Linked DNA regions of Homo sapiens: all the other regions are linked to region 5. The links are contacts of gene promoters, found by promoter capture Hi-C in blood cells and fetal thymus (Javierre and others, 2016). All regions are on one chromosome and are shown on one strand. The core of a region is centred on a gene start or on the middle of the fragment in contact, and the rest is flanking DNA. Distances in the headings are between cores, read along the strand shown.

Region 1 (2,700 bases), core at 79-2,578, 400 kb before region 5:
CCCTCTTTCTCTCTTGCTCTCTCTCAGACTCACCAAATATAATTCGCAATTCCAGGGTGTTTATAAAGAAAAGGGGACAGCTAATGTAGTCACTTTAATAATGTATTAAAAAATGAGAATCCTTGAAAATGCCAAAAGAAAAAAAACCAGCAGAAGGTAAAAAGCAAAACTATCTCTTGATAGTGTTGAAATCTACGCATAAGGAGAGGGGAGACAGCTAGTGAAGTCATGTTTAAAAATGAATACAAGAATGAATTTCTGTGAAGATGCCAAAACCACACAAGCTGAAAAATAAAACTTTCTCTCAAGAATGTGTTAAAATCTACCCATAACAGTAGACATTTTTAACTGAAATAAAATTTTGTTTGGCCTTGAATAATGAATCCATATGCTGAGGCAGCAAAGCAGGTTAAGAAGGTTATGACCCTAATTTACTAATGAGGAAATCGAAACATGAATCAGGGCTGCCTGGGGAAACTCAGTAAGATGGCAGCCCTGGATGGTCTAGGAGTGTTCCTCTCTCAGGCCTATGGCTAGATCAATGACCCCTGCTGTCTTCATGCTGGTGTCCATCAGAGGGAGTTCCGATAGTAATGGAGGAAGTGATTTGAAATGAATCTATCTAAAAGGAAAAGAGCACATAGGAGCGTTCATAGTCTCACAGGTTGGTCCTTGTTATAATCTAGATATGTAAATCTTTAGAAAGCTTTCAAGTGATGGCTTCAAAGATTATATTTCTCTTCATTTTTTACAAGATTTTCATGTTCTAATTCTTGCCTATTAACCTTTGTTTGAAAAAAGCATCACTTGGTTTAGATAACAGGAGTAAATAGATAATTTCAAGGAGGATTTAAAAAGTAGGCAATGGTACAACTTTAAAACACACTCCCATAGATAAACAATGATGAATTTATTCTTAAATTCCCTTGACAATATGTGAGTCAAAAATAATTCTGTCAAGAAACCCAAAATACCTTATTCCCATTTTTCCTCCTTTTAAAAAATTTTGAAATGTTAACAAATATACTGAAATGTGCATAAAACATCAATTTACAACTTAACAAATTGTAGGAAAATGGATTCATGTTCTCCATTCAGGTCAAGCAAGACAAGCCTCTTTTGTGCCCCTCGTTATCATAAGCTCTTCTTTCTTTGAGGAAACGTACCATTCTTACTGTTATGCCATTCACATCTTTGCTAGTCTTTATTGTTTCACTACCTAAGTATGCATTACTAAACAATGTAGTTCAATTCATGTTATTTGAAATCATGCAATATACTCTGGCATGTCTGAATTTAACATTTTTACTCAATATTATGTCTTTAAGATTCAACTGCAGTTTGTGAGTTTTCATTATCGTGTGGTATTCCATTGTGAAACTATATCACAGTTTGTTTATCCAGTGTTCAGTTCATGGACATTGGGTTGTTTCCAGTTAGAGGCTATTACAAAGAATGCTTCAATGAACATTCCTATACAAGTCTTTTGGTGCACTTAAGTATGTGTTTCTGTAAAGTATGTACCTAAGAATGGAAAAACTGGTTCATTAATGTATGTGTATCTTCAGCTTTATTAAACACTGCCAAACTTCTTCCAAAGTAGCTATACCATGCTTAGGCCTTTCTATTTTTAATTATTATAATGGTGTACCCAAATCATGTGGTTAAGGACTGCACCTGGTTTTCCTGGCAAGAATAGGTTGGCAAATTGGTTTGGAAACTACTCTGTCTGCCAACTCTTGTTTCCCTTGATTAACTTACCCCTAGAGATACACTACTTCAGACATATCTCTTCCCTTTGCCCTGATAATAGTCATCTTTGTTTTTATATCAACCTGTGACCTGTTTCAATATAGCTATATGCAAGTTGCAATTACGGAACTTAGAAAGGCAATATCGGGAAAATAATTTGCATTGGACATAATTTCCCTTGGGTTTAAAGCATCTATATTAAGCTTCTATGATGTGTAGTACAATCTGGTTTATTTTATTTTTTATTTTTAAGGCTATTTAAGTGATGCCAATGTAACAGAATGACTTAACACAGTTAAATGCCAAACTGGGATTTAAAATACCAATGTTTTCTTCTTTAAAGTTGGATCCCTTCAGGATATTATGAAGATGCAAGCATCTTCATGGCAGTCTGTCACCTTGTGGCTCCAGAACTTGAAAGCTCATCATGTTCATGGATCAGCACCATTTATACTTATTAATATTTTTAGTGTCTGCCTTATAAATCAGGCACAAAATGCAGGGCTTTTAAAAATAGCCTTCTAAATCTTTTCAGGCTTGATACACTCTGCTAAAATGAGTTGTTGATATCAGCATCTCCTTTCCTCTTGCTGGCTTGTCTCTGAATAATGGCTACACCTGTGTTTGATTCAGGACCATCAAAGGTCTCCAAAGATTTAACTGTTACTGGCCTGTGCTTCTGCAATACCCTCACAATAACCATCATTTCATTATTCTATCCAAGTATAGGCTCCAATAATTCACAACTAGGAGCCAGGGTCCTGCGGCTAAATTTTGGTCCAGCTTACCTAAGTACTAGGCAGTAAGGAGATCTCACATTAAAAGAAGTAAATATTTACTTGCTCAAAGTAAAGTTTAAGACAGTCTGGTTGATGTCTATTGTGACAATTGCATAGTATTAAAAGTTTGGGGGAATACACAGACACCAATGTATTTTGTGAGTTGGTC
Region 2 (2,700 bases), core at 157-2,656, 480 kb before region 5:
TCAGTCTAGCTTCAACATACTCTAATATTCATTCATTCTTTTAACTTCTTTTATGTTTTCATATTTTTTTCTCTCTATTCTACATTCTGCGTAATTTCCTCAGACTTATTTCCAGTTTGCTATTTTTTCCAGCTTGTCTTGTTTGCTATTAAACTTATCTAATATATATTTCATTTCGATGATTCCATTTTTCATTTCTGTCAATTCTGTTTTATTTTCAAGTTGACCTCTTATTTTTATCCTTGGGTCATGTCATGTTATATGTTAAAATTTTGTCTTATTGAATCATTTCAAGAATACTTTTTCTATAGTCTCTTTTAGCTTGCAATTATTTGAGTTCATGGGGAGTGAATTCTCTCTGTGGCTTCTACTATGATGGAGAAATGGCATGGTACGTCTACTATGATAGAGACTCTGGCAGATAATCATCTCTTGTAGATTAATAATTGTTTATTTTGAACCATTTTATGTACCCATCCTCCGTGAAATTTCTTAATATCCTAGGTTCATTAAATGTCTATATAAAATAGTTCTTTTCTGCATCTGTTTCTGCTAGAGAAGGACACAGATTTCACTGGCCCCAAAACATATTTTACGTTAATTTCTGTACTTGGGACTTCTACACTTCACGAGAAGTATATATTTACTTTCTCTAACTATTGTTTAGCATAGACGTGTGATTTTGATTGCTCAAGCAAAACAATAATTTTACCCTAAAACACAGGTAGACAGCAGGTTTACCTGGGCTGAAGAGCATAGTATTTATAGATCCCCTTATATAGAGATATATGCAGTCCTAACTCCCCACCTCATCCAGAGCCCAGTCACATCTCCTGTCCCAAGTGAGTGTGAAAATCCAACTTTTGAACACTAAGACCTGGGTCTCATGCCTCTCTGTTTATAGAAATTGTAGAATTAACTTTATTGCGAACTTTGCTTTGTATTGTTTCGTATCATTGGAAATTCCAGCTCAGTTGGGCCCCTACATGACTGCAGCCCCAGCTGACACCATGATGCAAAGGAATCCAAAAAAAGTGTGATTTATAATAAGTGCTGGTTGTTTTTTTAAGCTTCTATTGTTACACAGCAAAGATAACTTGGATAACTAAATTACTTCTGTCATCTCCATGCTTTCTGTAAGGTCTGGTTAAAGGTTGCCATCAAGATGCTGTCATCTGTGGAAAGAATTGAGAGAAGGATATTGCCACCTTCCCTTGCACTTGCAGGGAGGAAGTATAGAGGAGCGCAGAAAGAGGAATGCCCACAAAATGTGACCCACAAAGGGATGGACAGAGATATATGTGAAGAGCAGACAGCAGTTCACATCCAGATGGCTGGCCAGTGTAATTCCTGAGAATTCCCAAAAGTACCCAGGAAGGGGAATCTGACAAAGACTAGATGTATAACATCACTGAGTTGAGGACTTGAGCTGTAGTGATGTGTGCATTAAAAATGTGACCTTACAGAGCCCAGTGGAGACCGAAGAAAAGGAGTACCATCCAGAAGATAGTGCTGGTTCATTCAGCTAAACATAAATGGAGCCAAAATCAGTAGAAAACCAAGGGCCCAGGGCATTAATTCCAAGACTGTGAGTGTATGGGTTTTGTTTCTTTGTTTGTTTGTTTGTTTTGTGTGTGTGTGTGTGTGTGTGTGTGTATGTATACATGCATATATATGTGTTAGGTTTCTGGAAAGACAGAATGGTAACATTCACTATTAAACCTGCAGAAAGGAGAAACAAGATAAGCTTTAAATATATATATATTAGATGTGGCAGCTAGATTTATTTATTCCTGTATGAATAGTTGGGCTAGATGGGTAAGATCCCTTTCTGTCCTGAAATTATTTGATTCTAATGCTTTCATGTATCACTGTCTTTTCGATTCACATTGTAGAGCTCTTCTCTGTTTTATACTGTTCTCTGTTTAAGAGGAAATAAGAATGTCACTATGTACTGAAGACAGTGTAACCCACTGGCTTTTATCAGCTTAATATTCTCTACCCTAACTCAGATAACGTTAGTATATGTGTACCTGCACTTCCTTCCCATCGGCCCATGCAAAGTGCCTGAATACATAAGTAAATAGATAATTCCCCAATTAACCTAGGTTTTGCATATGAATAATAGTGTTTTTGGAACAAGGAATATGATCATGACAGATATTAATATAACTTTATGTCTACAGACCCACTACATAATGATGACTAACACTTTTTGGGTACTGCACGAAACAGTCACTGCTCTAAGTACTTTTAAATATTAGTAATTTAATCCTCAACAAACCGTAAGGAGTATACTATTACTATTTTCATTTTATAAATGAGAAAACTAAAAAGCCAGAGGTTAATTTACCTGACGAAGGCTCAGATTTTTCAAATGTCAGTGTTGGTGCAGATTGGGTTCTCCAGCAAACACATCGAGAGATGGATATTAGTGTGTAGAGTTTCCTTAGAAGGTCTCTCAGGATAAACATGTGTAGAAGGGAAGAGAAAGAAGTGGCATTGAACAGGAAGAGAACTTACACTGAATGCAGTAATAACAATATCCTTCATCAATACCCTGGGAATTCTGAAGCTGAAGTGACCCTTCAGAGTAGTTCCAGGTAGGGTGAGGGGACTAGGACTTCTACGTAGACAGTCATGTGATGAATACTGCCCTTGGAGAAGGGGACATGACTTTGGTGAAGCGGCTCTCTCCAG
Region 3 (2,700 bases), core at 11-2,510, 440 kb before region 5:
GAAAACATACAATGTGTCCTACATGTACAACATATTCCTTTAGGTAGATAACAAATAAAAAGACAATTTATAAATTAAGCCGCATGCCTTAGATTCAATCCTGGAAACAATACTGTTTCTCTCCAAAGGTCCCTCTACTCACTCCTTCACAATCTGTTCCCTCCACCTACTAGACATACCGGCTGCCTTGGTGACCAGCCCATGGCAAGGGAAAGACCCAAAAATAAAACTAAAGGATAAAACACTCAGAAAAGACACAAATTAATAAGATATTTGGCTAAGTATTAAACAGGGGAAAATGCACAAAACTCTTGGAGTAAGTGTGCTGCAATGAACATTCTCTCCAGTTCCATGGGTCAGAGGATAACTGTCAAGAGGATTCATTGCAACAAGTGTGCATAAGTGCCTAGGTATTCACTTCTGGTGATTTCACTTTAATGAAGTGGAACAATGACATAAATTAGTCAAATCAGCTTTAAAATTGCTACATGTGCTGATGTTTGTATTAAAACGATCATGCTTATCTGAACACATGTAAGAATAACATTGTGGGCCTGTGGCCAGAAGGGTGCCAGGGAGGACATCAAAATCCAGCAGAGAAAACCCACAAGGCAAAAGATAAAGGCTTGGATGTTCATCACTTGCTGGTATTAGACAGGCTGCTTTGAGGTAAATAGGTCACCAATTAAGGGGACAAAAGCCTCTGGTTCTGGAAAAAGCTCAGTCACTAGCTATGTGAACTAGGGTATGTTGTTTTTCCTTTCTGGAGTTCAATGACGGAGTTGGACAAGACAACCTTTGAGACCTCTTCTGCCACTTACATCTCACAACTAGTCTCCCAAACTTAAAAAAAAAAAAATCATTTAGTTGATAATTAGGGAGTGAGTGCCTTTCCAGTCCCATTGTCAGTTTTGACCCAGATGCATGCATTACTAAAGGTGTCGATGATTTTATCTTTGTAAAACACTTTCTTAAAGAAAGCCATACACTTATTAACCTTACAGATTTGGAAGCCTATTAACAGAGGGGCATTTGCTCTCTCTAACCTACACACTCAGAATGATTTGTCTCCCATATGCCTGGCCAGGGCAAGATTGTTGCTAGGAAGTTAAACATCCTGTTACTCAGCACCAAAAAAAGGAAGATAGCAGATGTGCGAGATCAGCTGGGTGGCAGAGATCTAACATTGACAACACTCCTAATGTGTGCAAGCGTGCAGTTTCCTTTTGCCCTTTATGATTTCTTACCCATCCTCCAAATTGATTTTTGGCATGCTTTGTGGATAAATGTTGTTGAATTTCTGTGCTGGCCTCTATACCCATTGTCAGGACTGCATACAACACAATGGAATCATGCTTTTAAAAAAAAACTTTATTGTTAGAATTCACACAAAACCACTTCAGCACATCATTCTATGGTAGAAAATAAGAGTCTAAGTGAATGTTTGTGTACATATACACAAACACACATATTACGTTAGGATATATATTTATAGACTCATTTATTTTTCTCTTTAGAGATAATTTGGAAACTGATTATTAGAAAAACAAAATGTCACCTTCTAGGTACAATACCTTTTAATCAAGCACAATAGCAATTTTTCACATTGTATAGCCTTTAACAGTCTACAAAGAGCTTGCCATATATTACATGTGTCACCTCTGCAATAAACTGGTGTTATTTGTAGACCAGAAACCAAATATTAGAGTAGTTAATTTGGGCCTGCTGGTCTTGACACAACTCTTCCCTCCAGATTCTTTATGCTAACAACATAAATTTCAGGACCCAAAAGATAAGGATAGAGATTGATCAATAGGTTTTCCTGTCAAATGGCCAGAAATCACCCACATAGCTTCCAAGTTTGTCTGTGTGTGGCTTTTTCCAATTATCTAAACAGTTTTTAACTGCAGACCTGTGTTTCTCCTCAAAGACAAGGAGGGGCATGGGGGACAGTGTGACAGGACTATTGTCAGTATGTATCTGGCCAGACCCCTCCTAAGAAGTGAAAGCCCCCATCCCTTTCCTTGCTTCACTAGGAACAGACACGTTGAATCCCTGGGGACATCCAGTCACTACTCTCTTAAGTCCCTCAGGACATGGAAGGGTGGGTTTCTTCCTGTTCTTGCATAGAAACATAAAGAGCAGGAAAGCATGATATCTAAACAAAAAAAGGCCATTTCATTGGAGATTTATAGATGATACTTAGTGTTCTTTCTTTCAGCAGATATGTAGCCTATCTTGTGGGAACAAGCACATACATGGATCTACATGTCCTTCCTAGATGACAGTCACAGTCTGCTAATTTATCTCCTGTCCGAGGAGGGAAAAAATGACCATATGATGGTGTGGATCTCAGGACCCAGGTAGGGAACTTTCCTCCAAGTTCTCAAAGACAGAGATTCATTCCTCCAGATTCACACATTGACGAGTAGTAAAGTTGGAATTTGAATCCTGACTTATTGACTCTGAGTTTAACTCCCTCATACATTCATAAACCATAATTATAAAATTTACTAGGCCAATTTTTAGACAACTGGCACCCTGTGGCACCATTTGAATTCTGGATGTAACCAGAATGAAGGTGAGCTCAACCTCTAGACTCCCCAGTTAAATAAGCCGACACCTTGCCTTCTTTGCTTGAGCTCCTTTAACTTTGGCTTTTCATTACTCCATAAATTTTCCTAATGCTACATGAGCCTT
Region 4 (2,700 bases), core at 16-2,515, 500 kb before region 5:
CGTACTTGATAATATATACATATGTGTGTAGTATACATACATTTATGTGTGTATATATTATATATTATTATAATTATATATATATATATACTTGATATATGTATTCTCAAGTGAAAAAGAATACATAATTTCACTTTTTCTAGGTCAAATGTAATTTCTGATTATAATCCTGCTGGGCCCCCCTGCAAGTTATCTTCAGGAAAGAAGCTCAGTAAATTTGGAGTCTGGTTGAATTTCAAATTTGATTTTAAGTTCATTTATATTTGGAGATGCTGTGTTGTTTTCCTTCTCTAATTTCAAATAGAACAGCAACCGTGGACTGAAACTCTTGGTGTAAATAACAAGGAAGTTCTAACAATGAAGCTTTCCTGTTAAAGAGCAAGAATATTCCCATCTTTGAAGAGAATATAAATTATTTCAGAGTAATACAGTGGGTAATGCCTGTTCTCAATAGGTAAATCAATTGCCAAGGCCCTGAGTTGAAAGTTTTCTTGAGATAAAGAACCAAGCCTTTGAAATATCTGTCCTGGATATCAATTAGGTTAGAAGTCCAATCTCCCATCCCCACTTCTGAGAACTGCCTCCTGTATAATGAACATAGTGGCACAGCCAAGGCTGATTAGATTGGGGCACCTGATCTAAACAGGAAGTTGGAGCTGAGACTAAGAGCAAGCAAGATTAAGGGTGGTGAAACTAGTAACATGCCAACTTAGACATCATTAGCAGTGGCTGTTAAACTATGGTGTTACAAAACAGAAGAAGCTTGGAAACAGAATGGTAAAGAATTTCAAGGCTCTATCAGGCATTCTAGGATAGTCTCTGGTCCTAATTTGATCCTGAATCCAGCTACATTTTGCCTTTGGGTTTCCTGGTGGCCACTGTCATCTTTATAATGAACTCAGTTTTCAGCCAAAGTTAAATCCATCAAGCTTCTGTTACTTTCAACCAGAACCAGGAGAAACCCTAGACAATACTTTTAGAAATTAACTTTTATAATTATTTACTTAAAGCTAAAACTGTTCCTGTTTTAAATCCTAAATTCAGAGTAGCCCGATATGAGTATTTTTATGAATTTTGAGGTTTTAAAAAGATGGTAGAGAATTTTCAAAACACATCATTTTGTTATTTTGATTCTGTATGTTCCTTTACAGAAGAATTTTAAAAACAAGTCAAAAATAGAGAAGAAAACTTAATGCCTTTTCCTAAAGACTAATTGGTAATTCAGGACATGTATTTTTAGGGAAGAGTTTACATTTCTGAGTCTTTCCTAATGGTGGATTTGACCATTCCCTCCTTGTGTATCAAAGCATATTGCTTTATGACTATTATAAATGTATCATGTTGTATAGTAATTAGTTATTAATCTTTGAAATTCATTACCACTTGACTCTCTGCTACACATTAGGAATACGAGGGTGAGAAAGCTACAGGATCAGTCCTCAAGGGAAGACAAACAGGCATAACATGTCAGGTGGGACTTTGTCTCTGCCTCAATGGTTGACAAGTGCCTGCATATTCAAGAGAAGGCAAGGAATTGCTAAGAAGCAACTAAGTCAATTCTGTGACTCTAAGCTCTTCATACAAATTCAGTCTATAAAAGAGAAGCTTCTTTTTTTGGATAGAGCAAGATGGTGGAATAGAAAGCTCTCCCTTGCAAGGACACCAAGTTAACAACCGTCCACACTGAAAAAAACAACTTCATAAGAACTAAAAATCAGGTAAGCACACATAGTACCCGGTTTTAACTTTGTATCACTGAAAGAGACACTGAAGATGTAGGAAAAACAGGCTTGAATCACCAGTGCCCCCCTCCTCTACCCCCAGCAGCAGCAGGATGGTGCGAAGAGCATCTCTGGGCACTGGGGAAGGGAGAACACATCAATTGTGAGTTATTGAGCCCAGTGCTGTCCTCTCAGAGCAGAAAGAAAAACTGGACCAAACTCAGCTGATGCCCATCCACAGAGGAGGCATTTAAATCAACCCTAGCCAGAGGGGAATCGCAGATCCCAGCTGTCAGAACTCAAGTGCCTGCAAACCTCACCACTGAGGGCTATAGTACTCCGTGACTCCAAATAAATTTGAAAGGCAGTCTAGGCCATAAACACAGCAACTCTTAGGCAAGACCTAGTGCTGAACTAGGCCCAGAGACAGTGGACTAGGGAGGCATACAACATACCAAGACACAAGCTGGGGCAGCCAAGGGAGTGCTGGCACCACCCCTCCCCTAACCCCAGGCTGCACAGCTGGCGGCTCCAAAGAGACCCCTTCTTTCCACTTGAGGAGAGGATGGGGAAAAGTGAGGAGGACTTTGTCTTGCATCTTGGATACCAGCTAAGCTACAGCAAGACAGGGCAATGGTCAGAGTCATGAGGCCCCCATTCCAGGCCTTAGCTCCCAGATGACATTTCTAGACACACCCTGGACCAGAAAGGAACCCACTGCCTTGAAGGAAAGGACTCAGACCTACCAGAATTCATCACCTGCTAACTGAAGATCCCTTGGACCCTGAATAACCAGCAGTGATACCTAAGTTCTACCAAGGCCCTTGATGAGCCTCTGAGACTTGCTAGCTTAGGTGAGACTCAGCCCAAAACCAGCTGTGGTGGCTACAGGGCAAAACTCTTTCAGCTTGAGGAAAGCAGAGAGAAAAGTAAAGGGGACTTCATCTTACACCTTGGGTACCAGCATGGCCACCATGGA
Region 5 (2,700 bases), core at 22-2,521:
TGAGGTACACAGCCCATATGGCAGTACCTGTCAACCCTGGACCTCCTTCCTCCTGAGGTTGAGTTGAGAATTCCACGAAATAAACCATAGGATTCATGCACACACCAGGCTGGATCTGCTACTCACTAGAGATTGACTCCCTTCTCCTTCTCTCACCTGAGGTACATTCCTACATTACAGCATCTGGAAAAGTATCCAGCTCTGGGGTTTGGTGACCTGGTTTCTCCAGGGTAAAACTTATGTACAGAGGTTTTTAGGTCCATGTTGTCATCCTGTAACTGGGGGAACCTTTCTGATCCTAGAGAAGTGATTGAGGTGTGACCCTTGGTGGCTTAGTGGATGCCAAGGTCAATAATTAAAACCCAGGGGTGTCATCATATCCTAACTTGGGGCACCCTTGGAGAGGCTTACCAGAAAACACCCTCGTTGTTGTTTTTATTTCTCAGTTTTCCAACAGATGGAGAAGCAGAGGTGTAGGGAATGGCCGGAACATGTGTGGGATCTGAATTTGCCCAAGGTCCTTATCTGGTGCATCAGAGAGTTAAAGGCCCAAGCCAATGTTCAGACAGTGAGGTCCAGAGGGAGGAAGCATCCTGGCCAACAGCAAGCAGCTGATGAACAGCAGAGCATTAGAGGACAGAGATGAGGAGGAAAGGAGAGAGGTGAGGGAAGGACCTGAAGCTGCTGCCAGGACTGAGAGAGGAAACCATAGGCAAGTCTTTTCTCTTGGGTCCCTGGAGCTGCCTCCTGCCATTTTTCATCCTCTATTGCCTGTGTGGACATGTGTTCACATTCACATGTGCCAGCACACATAGGGATGTAGAAAGCCCTGAAATAGCTAGATTGAGTCCTAGCTTGTAATCTGAGGTCTGGGGCAAGTGATCAGTACACTTGTCATCTGAGGTCCTTGAGCCTCAGTTTACTCATCTGTAAAATGGGGTTGCTTGATGCCTGCCTTGCCCACTTAGGTAGTAAAATGCACAAACCCAAATGGTCTACCTCCACAGCCTGCACTGATCCAGCCTCCCCCACCACCAGCAGAATAATCTGGGAGGTTGGGCACATGACCCTGCATCAAAGAATGCATGAGTGCCTCTCTGCACACAGCCCTGGGCAGTGCCCATTTCTCTTTCAGCTCAGTGAATGATGGAAACTCATGGAAGACAGCAGACAAAGCAGCCCCAGGGATAGGGGAGATTCCAGAGAGGCCCGTGACCAGGCCACAGGGATGCTGGGGCTGTAAACCAAAAGCCACTGGACTCTGTAAACCCACTGGGCACCACAGAGGCAGAAGGGGTGATGAGTGAGAGGCGAGTGGTAGTGGACTTGCCCACCAGTGCCAGCTCCAGCATGCCCCTCCAGAGGCGCAGGGCGTCCTTCAGGGGGCCACGGTCATCATCCTCCCTGGAGAGCCCCCCAGCCTCCAGGACCAATGCCATGAGTGGCCTTGTCCGAGCACCCGGGGTCTATGTAGGAACAGCACCCAGTGGGTGCATAGGTGGCTTGGGTGCCCGTGTGACCCGCCGGGCCCTCGGCATCAGCAGTGTCTTCCTTCAGGGCCTGCGGAGCTCAGGCCTGGCCACCGTGCCGGCTCCAGGTTTGGAGAGGGACCATGGTGCTGTTGAGGACCTAGGGGGCTGCCTGGTGGAATATATGGCCAAAGTGCACGCCCTTGAGCAAGTCAGTCAGGAGCTGGAAACACAACTGCGGATGCACCTGGAGAGCAAAGCCACACGCTCGGGAAACTGGGGTGCCCTACGGGCTTCCTGGGCCAGCAGCTGCCAGCAGGTAAGTGTCCAGGCTGTGCCAAGGGCTTTGCAGAGGGCTGGGAGGGGCTGCTGAAGGCAGCGGGTAGGGTTGTGAGTAGGCTGAGGCCAGAGAAACTGACCATAATCCCCTACACTTTCACACTTAAAATGGTAATGATAACAACAATGCTACCTTTTACCGAGGTTTACTAGGAGCCCACGCTAGCCCCCATACGTGCACTACCCACTGTCTTCTTTAAACTTCAAAGAAATGCTATGCAGTGGATCATTCACTGATTGCATTTTTCAGATGAGAAACTGAGGCATGTAATTTGCCCAAGACTTCAAAGCTAGTAGAGGGATGGAGATGAGATTTGAACCTGAATTTTTGTGCCTCCAAAGTTGCATTTGCCCCATTACCCTGGGGCTGCCTCAGTCACCTTTACTGTTGAGAAGGGATTTTTACAGCTATTATCCAATCAAATACCATTGGATGGATGAGGTGTTAAGAACAATGAATAAATGGAGGTGTGTTCCTGTATCCACCTACAACCACGCTGTTCAATAGAAATATGAACTACATTGGTAATTGACAAGTTTCTATTACCCACAGTAAAACACGTAAAAAGAAGCAGGTGAAGTTAATATTATAGCTTATTTAACTCTATATGTCCAGAATGTTATTTCAACATGTAATCAATACAAAATATATTAATGAGGTAATTTACATTCAAGTAGAGCTTTCTGCGTGATGGAAATATTAATATCTTATATCTGCACTGTCCAATCTGGCAGCCACTAGCCATATATGGCTATCAAGCACTTGAAATGTGGCTAATGAGACTGAGGAATTGCATTTTTATTTTATCTAATTTTCATTAATTTAAATGTAAACAGCCACAGGTAGCTAATGGCTATCTTATTGGACAGGGAAGGATGCAGAGGTTTCATC
Region 6 (2,700 bases), core at 165-2,664, 350 kb after region 5:
AAGGGGAGTGCCGACCCTGCCCTTTGTTTTGGCATTTTTATTTCCATACTTTGTGGTTTGTATGTGCCCAGTTAAACGGATGTACAGATTAGATAATCTGGCTTTAACTCCAACCTTCACGAGATGCACACATGCCTTAAAAAGATTCTTACAAAGAAACTAGAATTAGGAGACAATTCTGACAACACAAAAACAAGTGAACAAAAATCAAATGACTGACCTGACGTGTCCACTAGGCTTGATATGAGCTTGGTCAACTAAAACATGAGACAGAATGAATGACCATCTGGTCAGGTTGGATAAGAAGTAACTTTTGGCAAAATCTCTGAAGTCTGGATTTACACTTCGTGGAAGGAATCTTGACCTTTCCCCAAGTATATTATGCCTTGAGATAATAATCCTGTATAAGGCCGCATAAGCAAAACGACATTTGAAAATGAGTTTCATCTTTAGCTCATCCTTTTACAAATTTCTATTCCTTGTGCATGATTGAAGTGTACACATTTTTTAGTTAAAATATAAGCATATAGAAGGCACAAGTTCAATATTTTTCATGATAAGGATGTGTAATTAAACTGGTTAGGAGACTCATCGACTAGAGGGGGACATGGTGGCCCCAGGCTGTAAGAACAGGCCACACCGTCCACTGGGCCGCTTGCTTTGTGCTAAGATGACACTTTGTTCTGAGCCTCACAGTGTCTTGACCATGTTCCTGGAACCTTCTTGTTGGAGGGAGTTCATCTTCCCCTATGACTCTGTCCCTAGTCTAAGGTGTCCCACAGGAAGCTTGAGGGCGGGAAGTTTTCCAGCCCAGGAGCCTGAGCTCAGCGGGGCAGGAAGAGGGAGCAGCTCCTCCGTGGGGGACCTTTGAGAGCCCAGGAGCAGGATTTCGAGGGACACCTGGTGGGGAGCAAAAGGTGCTGAGTCTGTCTTTGACCTTGAGCCCAGCTTGTTTCTCCTGCATCCTCCCCCAAAAGGGGCTTTGCCTGTCATTCTGCAGTTCTAGTGTGGGGTCTGGGCGCAGTTCTTTTCCCTCTCCAGCCTCGGAGTCTTCCTCTGTGGACTGCGCAGATAGGACTGGTGGCACGGACCAGCTCTGCAGCCCTGGAGTCAGGAGCAGAGCCCCCCGGCTCCCAGCCCGCCGTAGCCGCTCCTGGCACCGAGCGAGCCGCGATGACAATGGCTGCATTGTGCTTCATGTCCCTTCCCATCAACATTTCTGTGCTGGACTCCTTCCACTCGCGGGTCGTCTCCAGAGCTCAGAAAATGAGGTGATCAGTGGGACGAGTAAGGAAGGGGGGTTGGGAGAGGGGCGATTGGGCAACCCGGCTGCACAAACACGGGAGGTCAAAGATTGCGCCCAGCCCGCCCAGGCCGGGAATGGAATAAAGGGACGCGGGGCGCCGGAGGCTGCACAGAAGCGAGTCCGACTGTGCTCGCTGCTCAGCGCCGCACCCGGAAGATGAGGCTCGCCGTGGGAGCCCTGCTGGTCTGCGCCGTCCTGGGTGAGTGCGGGCACGGGGTAGCACCGCAGAGTCGCTGGCCCGCGCGTTCCCTGCAACCCGGGCGGCCACCGCGCAGCCTGCATGCACTCCGCGCTCAGGCTGGAAGCCTGGGTGTCTGGGTGCCTTTCCATTGCCTCTCTACGCCCCACCCCTGGCCTTTGCTTGGGCTTCTAGACACCTTTCACTGCACTCACTGTCTTCTCCCCCTCCTCCTCTTTGTCCAGTAAATCTTGCAGCAGTGAAATACAATAAATCAGAGCACGTCTAACCAGGTTATCAAAACCCTTTGCTGCTGCCTCTTGTCAAGTCCGAACTCCTTAGCATGGCATTCAAGGCCTCCCGGGTCTGACCATTCCCCTTTCAGAGGCTGATGTCCCCTGGGTGCCCTGGGAGCTGTAGATGTCCTGCCAAGGAAGCGGTGCCATCGAGCGGTCAGAGCATGGGGTTTGAAGCCAGACTTCTTGGATCCAAGTCCTGGCCGGCTCCTCACCAGGGAGGGGGTCATCACAGCACTTGCCTGGGAGGGTCAAATGAGGGTCAGCGAGGTGGCAGATGCTGAGTACCAGTGGCAGATGTTGCACACATCCTGCTATGGGGCAGTGGCTGACGCCACACTCCCCGACCTCCTGAGGTGGGGCCCCCTTCATACTCTAACTTCTGCCTGCCATTCATGGGGCATTTGTCACACTGTTGGGGCTTCCACGTTTAGTTTTCTCTCCCCATAAGCTAGCAATTCCTTGAGAGAGGACCCCACGTTACTTGCCTTTATCCCCGCACAGAGCACTTCACAGGCTGTGCAAGGTAATGCTCCACTGAGGACACATTCTCGCCTATGGGAACTCTGGAGGCAGGGCTTTGTGGAGGGGCTGCCACAGGCTTATGTTGCCTCCTAGGATTTCCCATGGGCCAAGAGGGAAAATGGGGGTCGCTGGGGTGGCCATCCCTGGTGGCCCCTCCTCATGCATCCTGGAGAGCTGTGGGCCTCCTCTCCACAGGCTTTGTGGATCTTCTTCAGAGCCAGTGAGTCAGCCTTGCTGTGGTGGCCCACAAGGAGTGGAGATGACAGAGGGCCTTGGGGACAGGGCAAAAGCTCATGTGATAGGGATGCTGTCTCTGCAACCACATGGATTTTAATAGTTACCCATGGCTGGCTTCAGCTTTTTTTGTGAATGGCAGCCAAAAAGTGTGGTGAAAA
Region 7 (2,700 bases), core at 39-2,538, 340 kb before region 5:
TGTACAATGGGCATGTCTCCTTTTTTTTTTTTTTTTTGAGACAGAGTCTCACTCTGTCGCCCAGGCTGGAGTGCAGTGGCACGATCTCTGCTCACTGCAAGCTCCGCATCCCGGGTTCACGCCATTCTCCACCTCAGCCTCCCAAGCAGCTGGGACTACAGGCGCCCGCCACCACACCCAGCTAAATTTTTTTTGTATTTTTAGTAGAGATGGGGTTTCACCGTGTTAGCCAAGATGGTCTCCATCTCCTGACCTCGTGATCCTCCCGCCTCGGCCTCCCAAAGTGCTGGGATTACAGGCATGAGCCATCGTGCCCAGCCGGGCATGTCTCATTCTTAAAAGTCACAACAATATTTAAAACATGCATTGCCCTACTGACCAAGTGCTTGCAGCATCGTCTAATTAAGTCAGAGTATTAAATGGGTACAGAGGATTGGACATTGCTTTCATAGAGCATTTATTAACTGTATATGCCCTATAAAACTAGGGGATATGAATACAGAGAGGTGTCCTTGTTCCCTAGGAATTTAAAGTTTAGAATAATTTCAAGGCTATATGTTACTAAGTAGGCATACTGCACTGGTGTGTGGAATATGTAAGTACCCACCAAGGAGAAATTTTATAATGGCATGTGGATTCAGATTTATCACTTTACCTTGAGGATTTACCCAAATATGAAAGGAATATTAGTGATTGCTTTGCGTTCAAGGGAAGGGGTTTGGGCATAATGTGTAGACCTCCAGTACCATTTAACTGAGTGTTGCTACCAGTTGGGGCATGTATTTTTCAAAAGGAACTAGTAATTTCCTTCATTGGCAATTAATTAGGTATCCTAAAAACGTGCAATTTAAATCTGATAGCATGGATGGTGAGTCTTCTGGATGGCAGTGTTGGAGAGAAAGTCCAAGAATGCATTTTCTAGGAGAAAAGGTCACTAATTAGCTTTGCAAGTAAAATCAATGCTTAGTCATTCCTTCATCCAGTTTTTCTTTTCTGATGTTCCTTTAGCAGCATCATATTAGTTTTTGACATTGGAAAATCATAACCTGTTAACCCAATGGATAAACAATAGCTAGGAAAGCTTTTTAGAGTTTTTGATAATTTTATTAATTTTCTATTAACGTCTCATCTTTATTGTAATTTTCTTTAGGCTCAGAGAATAAAAACATCTGTCTCTAGCTAATGGACCAGTAGAACAGTCTTTGGAGCCAGTAGGATATGAGCCTGTGGTCTGAAGAATCAGGATAGATTTAAAGGAATTTGGTTAGTGACCTTGAATCTTTAATGTTCTCTGCCACACATTCTCCTCTTTTATAGTCTTACCATAAGAATTTGTGCTAAGAGGAATCTCTGGAAACATTCTAACCCAGGACACAAACTGCCTTTGAAATCTGAAGTAAATCTCATATAAAATGTATTTACACATAATTAAATTTGTTTTAGTCTAAAATCTGGTGATGTTACTTAATGTCAGTTCATTTCCACAAAGATTTATCAAGCTTCTGTGGATTCAAGTGAGAATGGAAGGAGAAGGTTTGGAGACAACACTTCTGAGGACTTTTGCCAATCACCTAAGCAATGTGAGGTTCCATATTGTGGCTTTCGAGTGAGATCATTCAAAGGTGTTATGTGTTTTTCTCCCTCTGGGCCTTCATGTGTATGAGTGGAGTGTTGAAGTGAACGAGGCCATGTTTTTGCCGAGTGAGCAGGTCCACACTAGAGTGGGGATAGAGTTCAGCATGTATGGAAGGGAGTGGTTATGACAATTGACTGTGGAATTTAAATTGGCTAAGGAGGTGAATTTGGACATGAGGAGGGTGAGGGACAGTGAAAAGCTGTAGTATCCAATGGGTTGGAGGTCTCCCTGGGGTCAGAGACTTGCTGAAGTTGTGGTATCAGAGATGGGAAACTGACAGGAGATGTTGGTGGTGGGAGAGCAACATGGAGGAATTTCAGCTAAGAAGTGGTGTGTGACCTTGGAGTTAGGGCAGAGAACAGGGACTGAAAAGCCAGGGTATTGGAATGATCATCTCTGTGGCTACTGAATTCACTTAGAGTCATGGCCACAGGAGTGATGAAGAGTGACAGGGAACCAGGAACCCAGATCTTCCCAGAATGAGGGAGAGTGGGCAATATAGTCTGATTTTGTGTGAATCAAAGGTCAGGATTTTACAGAAGAAAGGAGGGACAGTGGTATAGATGTGATAAAGATAACCCACTCTACCTCTAAGCCTTGAAGTTCAGGGAATGTGGGGAGAAAATAGTCACCACATAGGGGGGCTAGAGGTGGAGTGAGCAGTGGGATCTTGCTAATGACTATAAGTTCCAGACAGCACAGGGAAAGGGTTTCAAGCATTGGGAATGGTGGGTGATAGGGTCAGGAAGAGGAATGGAAAGAGCCATATGGTGGTAAAAGTGTAAGGTTGAGAAATGACTTGTGAGTCCTTGAGGGCTTCTCCTTGTATTCTTAACAGGGATAAAAGATATGATTAAGTTAGTCCTGATATTCCCAAGGCTATTGATTTATAGACTGGAATGGGAGAAAGGACAGCACCCAGGGTTTTGGGTCTCCCGCTGGACTCCTGCTTGAGGGGGTGGTCTTATACAGAGCACATAGGGCCCCCATTTAACCCCAGCCAGAGGAGGGGCTGCCTTGAGACCAAGCATTCATTACCCCTGTCCAGGGAAGTATAATGAACA

Evidence for each region. Contacts are between HindIII fragments. The CHiCAGO score rates a contact against its expected background, and 5 or more counts as called.
Region 1: a fragment that was not itself captured here is called in contact with the fragment with the promoter of BFSP2 in region 5 in 1 of 17 cell types (megakaryocytes); the score reaches 7.1 in megakaryocytes.
Region 2: a fragment that was not itself captured here is called in contact with the fragment with the promoter of BFSP2 in region 5 in 1 of 17 cell types (megakaryocytes); the score reaches 8.4 in megakaryocytes.
Region 3: a fragment that was not itself captured here is called in contact with the fragment with the promoter of BFSP2 in region 5 in 1 of 17 cell types (erythroblasts); the score reaches 5.3 in erythroblasts.
Region 4: a contact is called between a fragment that was not itself captured here and the fragment with the promoter of BFSP2 in region 5, in 1 of 17 cell types (megakaryocytes). The highest score is 5.3, in megakaryocytes.
Region 6: the fragment with the promoter of TF here is called in contact with the fragment with the promoter of BFSP2 in region 5 in 6 of 17 cell types (fetal thymus, naive CD8 T cells, neutrophils and 3 more); the score reaches 7.8 in fetal thymus.
Region 7: a contact is called between a fragment that was not itself captured here and the fragment with the promoter of BFSP2 in region 5, in 1 of 17 cell types (megakaryocytes). The highest score is 5.1, in megakaryocytes.

Annotation. Positions count from the first base shown.
Region 1 is chr3:132,995,925-132,998,624 of GRCh38, forward strand. No RefSeq gene overlaps it. Among named protein-coding and RNA genes, the nearest start is that of TMEM108, 41 kb to the right of the region's middle. The HindIII fragment of the contact is 1,249 bases long and covers 705-1,953 here.
Region 2 is chr3:132,920,843-132,923,542 of GRCh38, forward strand. No RefSeq gene overlaps it. Among named protein-coding and RNA genes, the nearest start is that of TMEM108, 120 kb to the right of the region's middle. The HindIII fragment of the contact is 677 bases long and covers 1,069-1,745 here.
Region 3 is chr3:132,963,346-132,966,045 of GRCh38, forward strand. No RefSeq gene overlaps it. Among named protein-coding and RNA genes, the nearest start is that of TMEM108, 74 kb to the right of the region's middle. The HindIII fragment of the contact is 3,583 bases long and covers 1-2,700 here.
Region 4 is chr3:132,900,055-132,902,754 of GRCh38, forward strand. No RefSeq gene overlaps it. Among named protein-coding and RNA genes, the nearest start is that of TMEM108, 140 kb to the right of the region's middle. The HindIII fragment of the contact is 676 bases long and covers 928-1,603 here.
Region 5 is chr3:133,398,785-133,401,484 of GRCh38, forward strand. It overlaps BFSP2 (beaded filament structural protein 2), which reads left to right and starts at 1,272. Exons shown (of 7, transcript NM_003571.4): 1 at 1,272-1,788. The coding sequence starts at 1,300. The HindIII fragment of the contact is 8,153 bases long and covers 1-2,700 here.
Region 6 is chr3:133,744,979-133,747,678 of GRCh38, forward strand. It overlaps TF (transferrin), which reads left to right and starts at 1,415. Exons shown (of 17, transcript NM_001063.4): 1 at 1,415-1,505. The coding sequence starts at 1,463. The HindIII fragment of the contact is 7,126 bases long and covers 785-2,700 here.
Region 7 is chr3:133,061,193-133,063,892 of GRCh38, forward strand. All of the region lies in intron 2 of TMEM108 (transmembrane protein 108), which reads left to right. Among named protein-coding and RNA genes, the nearest start is that of TMEM108, 24 kb to the left of the region's middle. The HindIII fragment of the contact is 418 bases long and covers 1,080-1,497 here.